Regions from separate parts of the Homo sapiens genome. Here region 1 is linked to region 2. The links are contacts of gene promoters, found by promoter capture Hi-C in blood cells and fetal thymus (Javierre and others, 2016). All regions are on one chromosome and are shown on one strand. The core of a region is centred on a gene start or on the middle of the fragment in contact, and the rest is flanking DNA. Distances in the headings are between cores, read along the strand shown. Region 1 overlaps SAMD4A (sterile alpha motif domain containing 4A). Region 2 holds the start of CGRRF1 (cell growth regulator with ring finger domain 1).

What was found. The method cuts DNA at HindIII sites, captures the fragments that hold promoters and counts their contacts. A CHiCAGO score of 5 or more calls a contact.
Region 1: a fragment that was not itself captured here is called in contact with the fragment with the promoter of CGRRF1 in region 2 in 12 of 17 cell types (M1 macrophages, M0 macrophages, naive CD4 T cells and 9 more); the score reaches 7.4 in M1 macrophages.

What each region holds. Positions count from the first base shown.
Region 1 is chr14:54,775,731-54,780,423 of GRCh38, reverse strand. It overlaps SAMD4A (sterile alpha motif domain containing 4A), which reads right to left. Exons shown (of 13, transcript NM_015589.6): 11 at 3,884-4,010. Among named protein-coding and RNA genes, the nearest start is that of SAMD4A-AS1, 90 kb to the right of the region's middle. The HindIII fragment of the contact is 2,323 bases long and covers 749-3,071 here.
Region 2 is chr14:54,506,944-54,511,564 of GRCh38, reverse strand. It overlaps CGRRF1 (cell growth regulator with ring finger domain 1), which reads right to left and starts at 1,659. Exons shown (of 6, transcript NM_006568.3): 1 at 1,502-1,659. The coding sequence starts at 1,605. RefSeq lists an enhancer at 1,179-1,408 and silencers at 1,584-1,769, 1,569-1,998. The HindIII fragment of the contact is 20,688 bases long and covers 1-2,453 here.

The sequences.
Region 1 (4,693 bases), core at 661-3,160, 270 kb before region 2:
TCCGGAAGGAAATGAAAAATAACAGCCTGGAGCCCTGTGCTCCCAGATATATGCAGCGTGCTTATGGCAGAAGAATCCCAATTGTGAGCTGGTACTTAGAGGAGGTTTGCTGTGGTGATCAGGTAAGTCACACCATGAAATGCTGCCATGTGAGGTGCCACTGGACCCAGCTCACATCCAGCTGGTTCACAACCAAGGGTAGTTTGCATGTGGCTTTGGGCAAGGGAAGAATGAGATTTTCAGAAGGCTGTGCAGCCTACCCTTCTGAAGGTTTTCCTTTGAAGCCTGCTATGGGGTTCCCTGCCCTTTTCTGTTAGGCCCTCCAGGGGGTAAAGAACCTCCATGATCTCCTACTGTTGAGCCAGGGCCACTCCAAGATCCTCTCTGACTGGATCCCAAGGACAACTAAGCCTGGGTCAGTAGAAATTAGTTGCTTCCAAAATAAAGGATCCCTCTCCAAGCAATTTCCAAACCAGTTATCTAGTTGAGAAAACGCCCTGCCTCCATGAGGAACGTGACCATTCGCACAGGCGCCACACTTGTTTTCTGGTGAGCGTATTACACCTCGTAGTGTTTCTTACTCATCACTGGCAATAGCCACCTGAAGGGTCTCCTGGCTGGTCCCAGGAAACAGCTAAAACTTGTCCATGTGAAGGTGGAGGTTGCAGTGAGCTGAGATTGCGCCACTGTACTCCAGCCTGGGTGACAGAGTGAGACTCCGTCTCGAAAAAAAAAAAAAAAAAAAGCTTGTCCATGTGGGAATAACATGAAACACCACTCCTGAGGGGCCTCCAAGTGCCCGTGAATTGTGTAGAACCAGGAACGAGGGATGAGTCCTGTAAACCCGAGCAAGGTGACTGATGAATTGATCCGCAACTTGGTGGGTTCTAGCCCTCTGTCTTCTCTGTATGAGACGTTTAAAGTCTCCCATCAGTAGAGTTATTTTAGGTTTACAGAATGAAAGCATCCTTCAAATGCATTGTAGTCTTCAAGATTTGCCCAGTTTACAATGGATTCTCTGAAGACATCTAACAGCCAGGAGGAAAACACTGCATTGTATGATAACAGTTTTCCGAGTATCTACTTTTGGGTTAGTTACACATCTCAATTTCATTTTGTGTTCACTATTACTCCTGTTCATGTACAGATGAAAGCCACTTTCTGACTTCCTGATTTTTGCTGTCCTGACATGATATTTGTAGTCTAGTTTTAACGCCTGGCCACAAGCCCCGGGAAGTCTCCATAGCGAACCAGATTGCACTGCTTTGTGTGGAAAGGCCCATCTGCAGAAGAGGCTCTGAATCCAGGAAGAGCAGAAGCGGCTCTGAATCCAGGATGAGGACCCTGACTCTATGACTCTAGGATGAGCCTTCGTCTGGACCTGCTTGGAGGTCAGAGGTGTCGTCCCTGGGTAGGAGGCTGCCTCCTTGGGAGGAAGGAAAAGTCACTACAGTGACCTGTGGCCTTGACAATGATTGGCAAGGGCTGAGGAACCTCAACCCTGTGCCCTTAAGCAGGGGCCTTCTGCAGCCTCCTTCCCCTTCAGTGAGGGATCCTGGGTCCTGGCCAGGCCCTGCCCTATCATGCCCTTTATGCATGTCCTGGAAGAGCCACCCAGCATGGTGCTGAGCGTGCTGGGCAGGACTTAGGAGTGGCTCCTGTCCAGCGTTCAATGGTTTATTTGCAATCAGGAAATTTAGAGCGGGCTTTTTCCTGTGCTTTGGCTGTTATTAAAAATGCCATGTGAGGATCTTTAAGACCTTGCTGGAAGTGGGTTTGTAATACTTGAGAGATTTTAAAAAAAACACTCAAAGCGTTCCAGAGTTTTAAGTCCAGTGTGCGAAGCATATTATTTAGAGACTTGCAGGTAACTACAGACTGCTAAAAGGGGTTGTGCCTGTGGGCTAGGAAGGGGAGGGGAGAGAGACAGTCACTTTTTGCTCACAGCACTTCTGTATTATTTGATTCTTTAACCACAGGAACAAGAGGGTTTGCATGAAGAGTGAAAATGATATTAGGTTCATAGTTGCCCTGAGCACAAGCCAGCCACTTGGCATTGCTGTGAGATAGTGGAGGGGAAACAAAGGTATAGGTGGAAGATTCTATCAACAAACCCGAAGCGCTCCGGGACAACCCAGCTTTTAGAAAGGGGACTGTCTGGACCTAGTCTTCCCAGTTAAGATGGAGAAAGCTCAGGGAAGATTCAGTATGAACAAAGAGGAAGGCTGAGAACTGGCAAAAGAGTGGCAGGAAGGGAAAAAATCAAGAAGGCCTTGAGAAGGTATACAGAATTGAAGACAGTGGTCACTCTGCTGGTGAGACTGAGGCCAGGGTGAAAGACCCATTCAAGGTGACAGATCTCCTTGTGCGCAGGACCTCTTCAAATCTTGTCCAGATTCTTTTTTATTGGGAATGGATTATACATAATTCTGCGTGAAAACAGAGGATGGGATGAAAGGACCCTGGGATAAAGCCTTCAGAACCCCCAAATTTTATCATGTTTCTTCCCAGGAAGAAAAATAGCTAAGCATATAGAAATATGTGTAATTATATTGTTATATTTTGGTGCATAAATATAGAGAAAAGGAGCTTTAAAACAAAAGTGAGCAGAGTTTTGGAAGTCAAGAAGCAATGTGAGCAGGCCTCTGCACTGGGTAGCTGTCGCTCCCCTCCCTGACATGCCGTTCCCAGCAGTGTGTCCTCCAGCGTCCTCCTCCTCCCTGACCTCCCAATTCCAGCCTACCCCCCCACCCCATCATCCTGCACCCTCCTGCCTGACTTCTACTCGGAATCCCCCATGTGGAGGAATCCCCCCAGGGAGAGTGGCCAGAGTCCAAGCTCCTCAGCTTTGGATTCAAAGTCCCCCACCATCGGCCACGACCTTTACAGCTCCCTGGGTCCACTTTCTGCTACCTCAGCCAGACCCTTTGGCCCAGCCACGGCTTCCGGGCCATGCTGTGGTATTCTGGACCTTTGCAGTCTTGCTCCTGGGTTCCTTCTGCCTGTAACTCTGCCTTCCCTCTCTCCACCCTCTGCTGTGCCCTGAAGCTCAGCTCCAACTCCAGGAAGCTTCCTTGCCTATTCCAGGCCACAGTAACACTTCTCTTCTTTAAACTCCTACAGATAGGACTTACTGGACAGAGCGTTTCTACTGTCCAGGGCATTTTCCTACAGGTACAACACATCTCCAGTTTGCCTGCCTTGGGGCAGTGGGGGTGGGGGGGGGTCCATCCAGATAGGTGCAGTGTAATTGCCTGTGTGGCTTGTTATTACTCATGGAGTCTACAAAGTCTACAAGATCACTGCCTGCATAGAGAAAGGGTTCAAGTATTCATTAGCTGTGCATAATTCCAACCACTCTGTTTTAGGAAGCATAGTGAAAGCTGAAATTGATCTGAAGTGTGCTAAGTTGCTCTTTAACCAAGTAAAGGAAAGATGGCTGGTACAACAGTCATCACTTTGCAAGAAAAGCCCAAACCAGGGGGAAGGTCTCAGCATCAACAGTTTTCTCTTTCTCTGTCTCACTCTCACTTTCTCTTTCCACACACACACACACACACACACACACTACACATGGAGCCCTCCCACCTCCCCACCACCAAAGCCCTCTTGTGCTATCTCTGGTTTAATCAATCTAGAAATATGACTAGTATCAAAAATATCCCCATCCGATTGCAACCAACTCTGGGGCTCCACATGCTGGCTCTCAGCCAAGCCGCCGCTATTCATGCTGGCAAGGCACAGTTTAAAAAAGGAAAGGCTTCTATAAGCTCCAAAGAATGCACGGTGACAGTCGAGGCTAAGCACTTTCTGGCTGGGTTTGCTAGGGCATCTATTTTGGCCTCCCCTCTGTGTCAAGGGGACATGAAGCGCCGGGCCCTACCTGGCTGCTGGAACATCAGCATGTTCTGTGGGGAAGTGTGCACGGGCAGCGAGCGGGTCCTCTGGACTGAGCTGTGGGTGCGGCTTGGCATGCTATTGCTGCCCCCGGGGTTGGCAAACCACAGGTTCTGGTGAGAAAAGCAAAAGGGGAACTTGTTAGTTCAGCCCCACTGGGGTGGAGAGCAGAGCCGCCAGCAAGAATTTGGGAGGCAAAGATCCCAGGAGAACTCTAACTTCTAGAAAAGGGGCTTGCAGGCCAGTGCTAGCATCTGCTTATTTATAGAGAGAGGGTTTAGATTCCATTCACTGTAATTTCTCTTCACCTCCTCAGTGGTGGCCTTGCTGTAAGCCTCAGCTTCATCTGGACACCTCTTTCCCTATCTGCAGAACTCTTTTTATCGCATTTGTTGCTTTTGCTTTTTCCCTGCCACTTTTCTAGGAAATGGGGGAGTTCTATAAATGTATGCAACGAAGAGCACAAACTATTTCAGGGCTCTGATTTTTTTTTTTTTTTTTTTTTTTTTTTAAGATTCTTACAATGTACTCCAAAGCGAGGGGGAGAGAAAAGAAACTCTCAGCTGGCAATGAGCTGGCACAACTCAGCCTGTGTGTCCCAGCAGTGACGTCTTCTTGAACTGATCTGGGGGCTGGGGACAATGGTCAGAAGATGGGGCTTTCTGGTACCCTGGGTAGTGAATCCTGCCCGTCTTGCCTGAAGCCCTTTTCCTGTTTTTAAGCTGATCTGTCATCCCTTAGTTTCTCCTGAGACCCCAGAACCTCAGACCTACTTGTGTCCCTCTGATCCTAATCC
Region 2 (4,621 bases), core at 410-2,909:
ATAAGGCAATTATCAACTAGTTACTATTTTCCTTAGTGGAGGAAAATTATGCTTCATTAAGAGAATAACACTAACATTATAGTCATTTAAAAATCTTGTGTTAAGACTGCTTTTCTCACATGGGCAACACCTTCCTCATTCCAATTACAAACTTTTGTGTAATGAACATTAGCAATAAAATCTGATGGGTCAAGAATAACCAATTGTGTAAGATTGGTCTTTGTTTTCCAATCTTACCCCCACAAATAAGGAATTTGTATTTCCAATCCTCACCCACATACAAGGCAAGGAATTCTATGCTCTATTGCTGGTAGGGTGAGGAGCAGTGTGGACAGGTTAAAACTTTTGTCACTTCCTAAAGATGGCATATATTTTCAGAAACCGACAAGGGCCCGTGTTCTTTAAGGCAATCACATATATGTGACCAAAGGCTATTTTAAAACTCGTTTTACGTAGCCTTCTTTATTCACTAACATGTTCTCTGCCCCTATGCTCATGCTGTCTTCTCTGAGATGCTTTTTCTTCCCTACTATATACATTTAACTCCATTTATTTTTCAAAATGCTCATTCTCCAAAATCCAGCTCATGTCCCTCTTCAACAGAGTCCCCTCTGACCTCTTCAGACCATGGCTGTTATCCACTTAGAACTGCTGTTTGATCTTTTTGTAACTATTATCATCTCAAAGGGATTTTGGAGGCTGCAGCCTAGAAAAACTGTTGTGGGCTAGTTACACGGTTTCAACTCGTTATTTACAAGGCTTGTCTAAACATGATACAATAGCATCTCCTCAAGAGAGAAATTGAACCTCTAGGCTAGAAGAATTGCTCAGCGGTTATCTAACAGACCATTCTCCTTGTCTCCAATAGGCAACTGTCCTACCCTCGGTGTTACATATTTCTAAGGTCTCTTCCAGCTCTAAAATTATGATTTTACAATTCTATCGACTAAATATTACTTCAAAAGGTGTGGAATGTATACAGAAACCATTAAATTCTCAAACGGTAACAGTTCAGTTACAAGTTACTCTGAAAGATCTGAGGCTAAGGGCTCCATTCAGGTCAGAATCACAACTGTTAACCTCGCTTACTGTCCAGTCTGTGCACTGTAGCACAGGTGACTAACTCATCCAGGACACACAGTAGGCCCGAATCCGGGACAGAAGCCTACTAGAGAAGCACTTTCTCCCAACACCAAGCCCAAGCCCAAGCCCTTCCTGGCTGCTTTATCGCCTAGAAACAAAGCTGAGTAAAACACCCCAATGCGGTACCACCCCAAGATGCCCCAGCGACACGGACCAAACGGTGATGCAGGGCAGTGACGCAGGTGCAGCGTCCACCTTGTTTTCCTCCCAGAGAAAGTCGGAGTTCTAGGCACCCGGGGACACCGAATCCCCGACGTCCTCCGGCCCGCGGCCCTCCGGCTCCGGTGCCCCCTGCTGCTCGTCGCGACCCCACTCTGGCGGTATCCGCCCCTTCGTCTCTCACCCCTGGGACACTTACCATCCCAATACCAGGCCGGTGGTCACGATGAAGCAGGTAAAGACCACCGCGATGTAGAAAAGCGGCGAGTATTCATAAAGCGTTACCAGAAACACCGCAGCCATCAGGGTCTTGCTCTGGGTAGAGCCCGGCTCCAGCCGCGGAGCCCAGCCCAGCCCGGCTGAGCCCCGCCCGCCCGGCCAGGGTAAAAGCCACTACAGTGCCCCGGAGCGGACAAACTTTGTAGGTCCGCACTTGCCTGGGGTTCTCATGAGCTAGACTTTAGGGCAGCCTCGCGGACAGCGGGAGCTGGCGTGCCAATCACGGCGCCCCCTGCCGGACACGCCACGCCCCTCCCGCTCCCGTCCCGAGCTATTGGCTACGCAGACCTGGGATGGGGGGGGCCCGACTCGCACCGCCCCCGACTCCCAGGATTGGTACCCAGCGGGCGTCTTAAGCGCTGTGGCCCAGTGGTCATTGCTGTTCCGCCGGCAAATTCTAAGTAGACTTTGGGGCCAACTCTGTGCCAGCCTTAGGCAATGTAGGTTTTCTGATGTCAGAGAGAGGCGCAGTCTGAAATCTACGTGCATCGTTTCTAAATCCTGAAACCCTGCCTATTATATCTTAGGCAAATTTGGGAGAGGGTGGAGGAGGAGGAGGAGGAGGGCGGGCATCTTGGATTCTACAAAATGAAATAACCATAAGCACAGTGAAAACACAAAAAAAGGAGTCTCTACCACAAGCAATTTATACGAGACTTGTCAGCCTTTTCAGATTGGACTTAATCATAGAGGAAAATCAGCATTGCTTATCCAAGATTCTCTTAGAAATAAAGCATCCGCTTCCTCCCACATCCCCCTCCTTTTCTCCTCTTCTTGTACTCCTCAAATTAGAATTAGCCAAACATTTGAAACTGTATTTGTTTCCACTTTAAGAATAATTTTTAAAAAACTTTTTAAATCACACAGAAGCTTTTTAAAAATTACTGAAAGTAGCTAAATGGTCACTCCCTTGTCTCAACCCTGTGAGTCAGCTCCATCAAGGTGGCCTCCCTGAAAGTCTTTCATAACAGTTCATTGACACCTCGTTGGTTTGCATTTACTCCTAAAGCCACATCTAGCCACATCAGAGAATGGGGATATGTAGTCTTATTATTCGTGAGCAGCAACACACCCTGGTACAAATCAAGAGTTTTGTTACTGAGGAGGAAAGAGAATGGACATTGGGATAGTTAACTAGTAGCCTCTGTCACACTCCTAAATCACCAGTAAAATTCGTGTTGAGAAAGATGAACTAAGTTTGTCCTATGGCCTCACATATTCCTTGGCAAATGAGCACGTAGTCTCTGGAGCAGCACTGTTTGAGAAGCTTGCTTCTACAACACAATTTTTAATTACTATATATCTGATTTGTGAAAATATATACTTTAATCAGCCCTCAACTGTTGGAGAATTTTTCATTGCTATAAATAACACTGCAATGAACATCCCTACAGCTAAAGTATTTCCTTAGGATAAATTACTAGAGGTGGAACTATGGTTTTAAAAAATGTACATTTTAAAGATTTTGTAAAAACACTGCTCTCCAGAAATGTACCAATTTGTATTCCCAGTTTTTCATCCACAGTTTTGCCATCATTTGATATTGTCACTTAACAAAAATATTGGCCAATCTGAAAGGCTCCCTTCTCCAGCAAGCCTTCCTGGATGCTTCCAAACCCTTGGGGAGATGCCTCTCCCAAAGCACCCAGTATGTAACTGTATGGGAGCCCTCTTATTTCTGGTGTGAGCACCTGCTCACTAGTGTATTTAGCCTGCTAGGAACCCAGCTCTCTGAGCACAGGAATGACACATAATTGATGTTTGTGCCACCGGTACCTAGTATATGTCGGGTAGTCATATTACTGAATTAATAAATAAATGAAATAAGCTTTTCTCCATGAGATTACTTGGAAGCACAAAGTATCTATATTAGAGTTTTTTAAAAAAAAGTTTGACTCTCAGATGAACAGGAAGAATGACTGTTCTTTATTATCTATAACTGATCTAGTTTAGCTTGAAACCCCACCCTAGACCCAGCATGGTGGCTCATGCCTGTAATGCCAGCACTTTGGAAGACCAAGGCCAGCACTTTGGGAGACCAAGGCAGGGAGATGGCTTGAGCCCAGGAATTGAGACCAGCGTCAGCGACATAGTGGGACCCTGTCTCTACAAAAAATTAAAAAATTAACTGGGCGAGGCAGAAGGATTGCTTGAGCAAGGGAGGTTGAGGCTGCAGTGAGCCACGATTGTGCCGCTACACTCCAGCCTGGGTGACACAGCAAGACGCTGTCTCAAAAAAAAAAAAAAAAAAAGCAAAGCAAGAACCTGTCTCAAAAAAGAAGAAAAAGAAAGAAGCCCCACCCTACTATTAGACGGGGTAAAAAGAGAAGACAATGTGAGCTTAAATTTATCAATAAAAAGTATCTTAGGCCGGGCATGGTGGCTCACGTCTGTAATCCCAGCACTTTGAGAGGCTGAGGTGGGCAGATAACTGAGGTCAGGAGTTTGAGACCAGCCTGGCCAACATGGCAAAACCCCATCTCTACTAAAAATACAAAAATTAGCCCAGCATGATGGCGGGCACCTGTAATCCCAGCTACTCAGGAGGCTGAGGCAGGAGAATTGCTTGAACCCGGGAGGTGGAGGTTGCAGTGGGCTGAAATTGTGTCACTGCACTCCAGCCTGGGCGACAGAATAAGATTCCGGCAAAAAAAAAAAAAAAAAAAAAGTATCTTAGACTCTTCAAGTTTAATTGCACCTTTTAGGAAGCTGGTCTCCTTTAGGAAAATGTTTAGTCTCTCCTCTCTCTTCTCTTGATTCTTCCCAAGACAGTATCTGATTGTACAAGGTGTTCATATGACCTGATGGTGGAGGTCAGGAAAATGAGACCTCAGCTCTGCATGACACCTGTAGGTCCTCACTAAGGGGAAGCGGGTTTCATCTGGCTTTTTGTGGTACCAGGCCAGCCCTCACTGCGGAGATCCAGGGTTCCAGCCATTTACCTCTGGTTGTAAAACCCTCATAAGCTATGGCTCCTTAGCTCCACTAGCTCACCAGACTGCTTACCATCTCCAATGTTACTTACTGGGGCAATATGTAA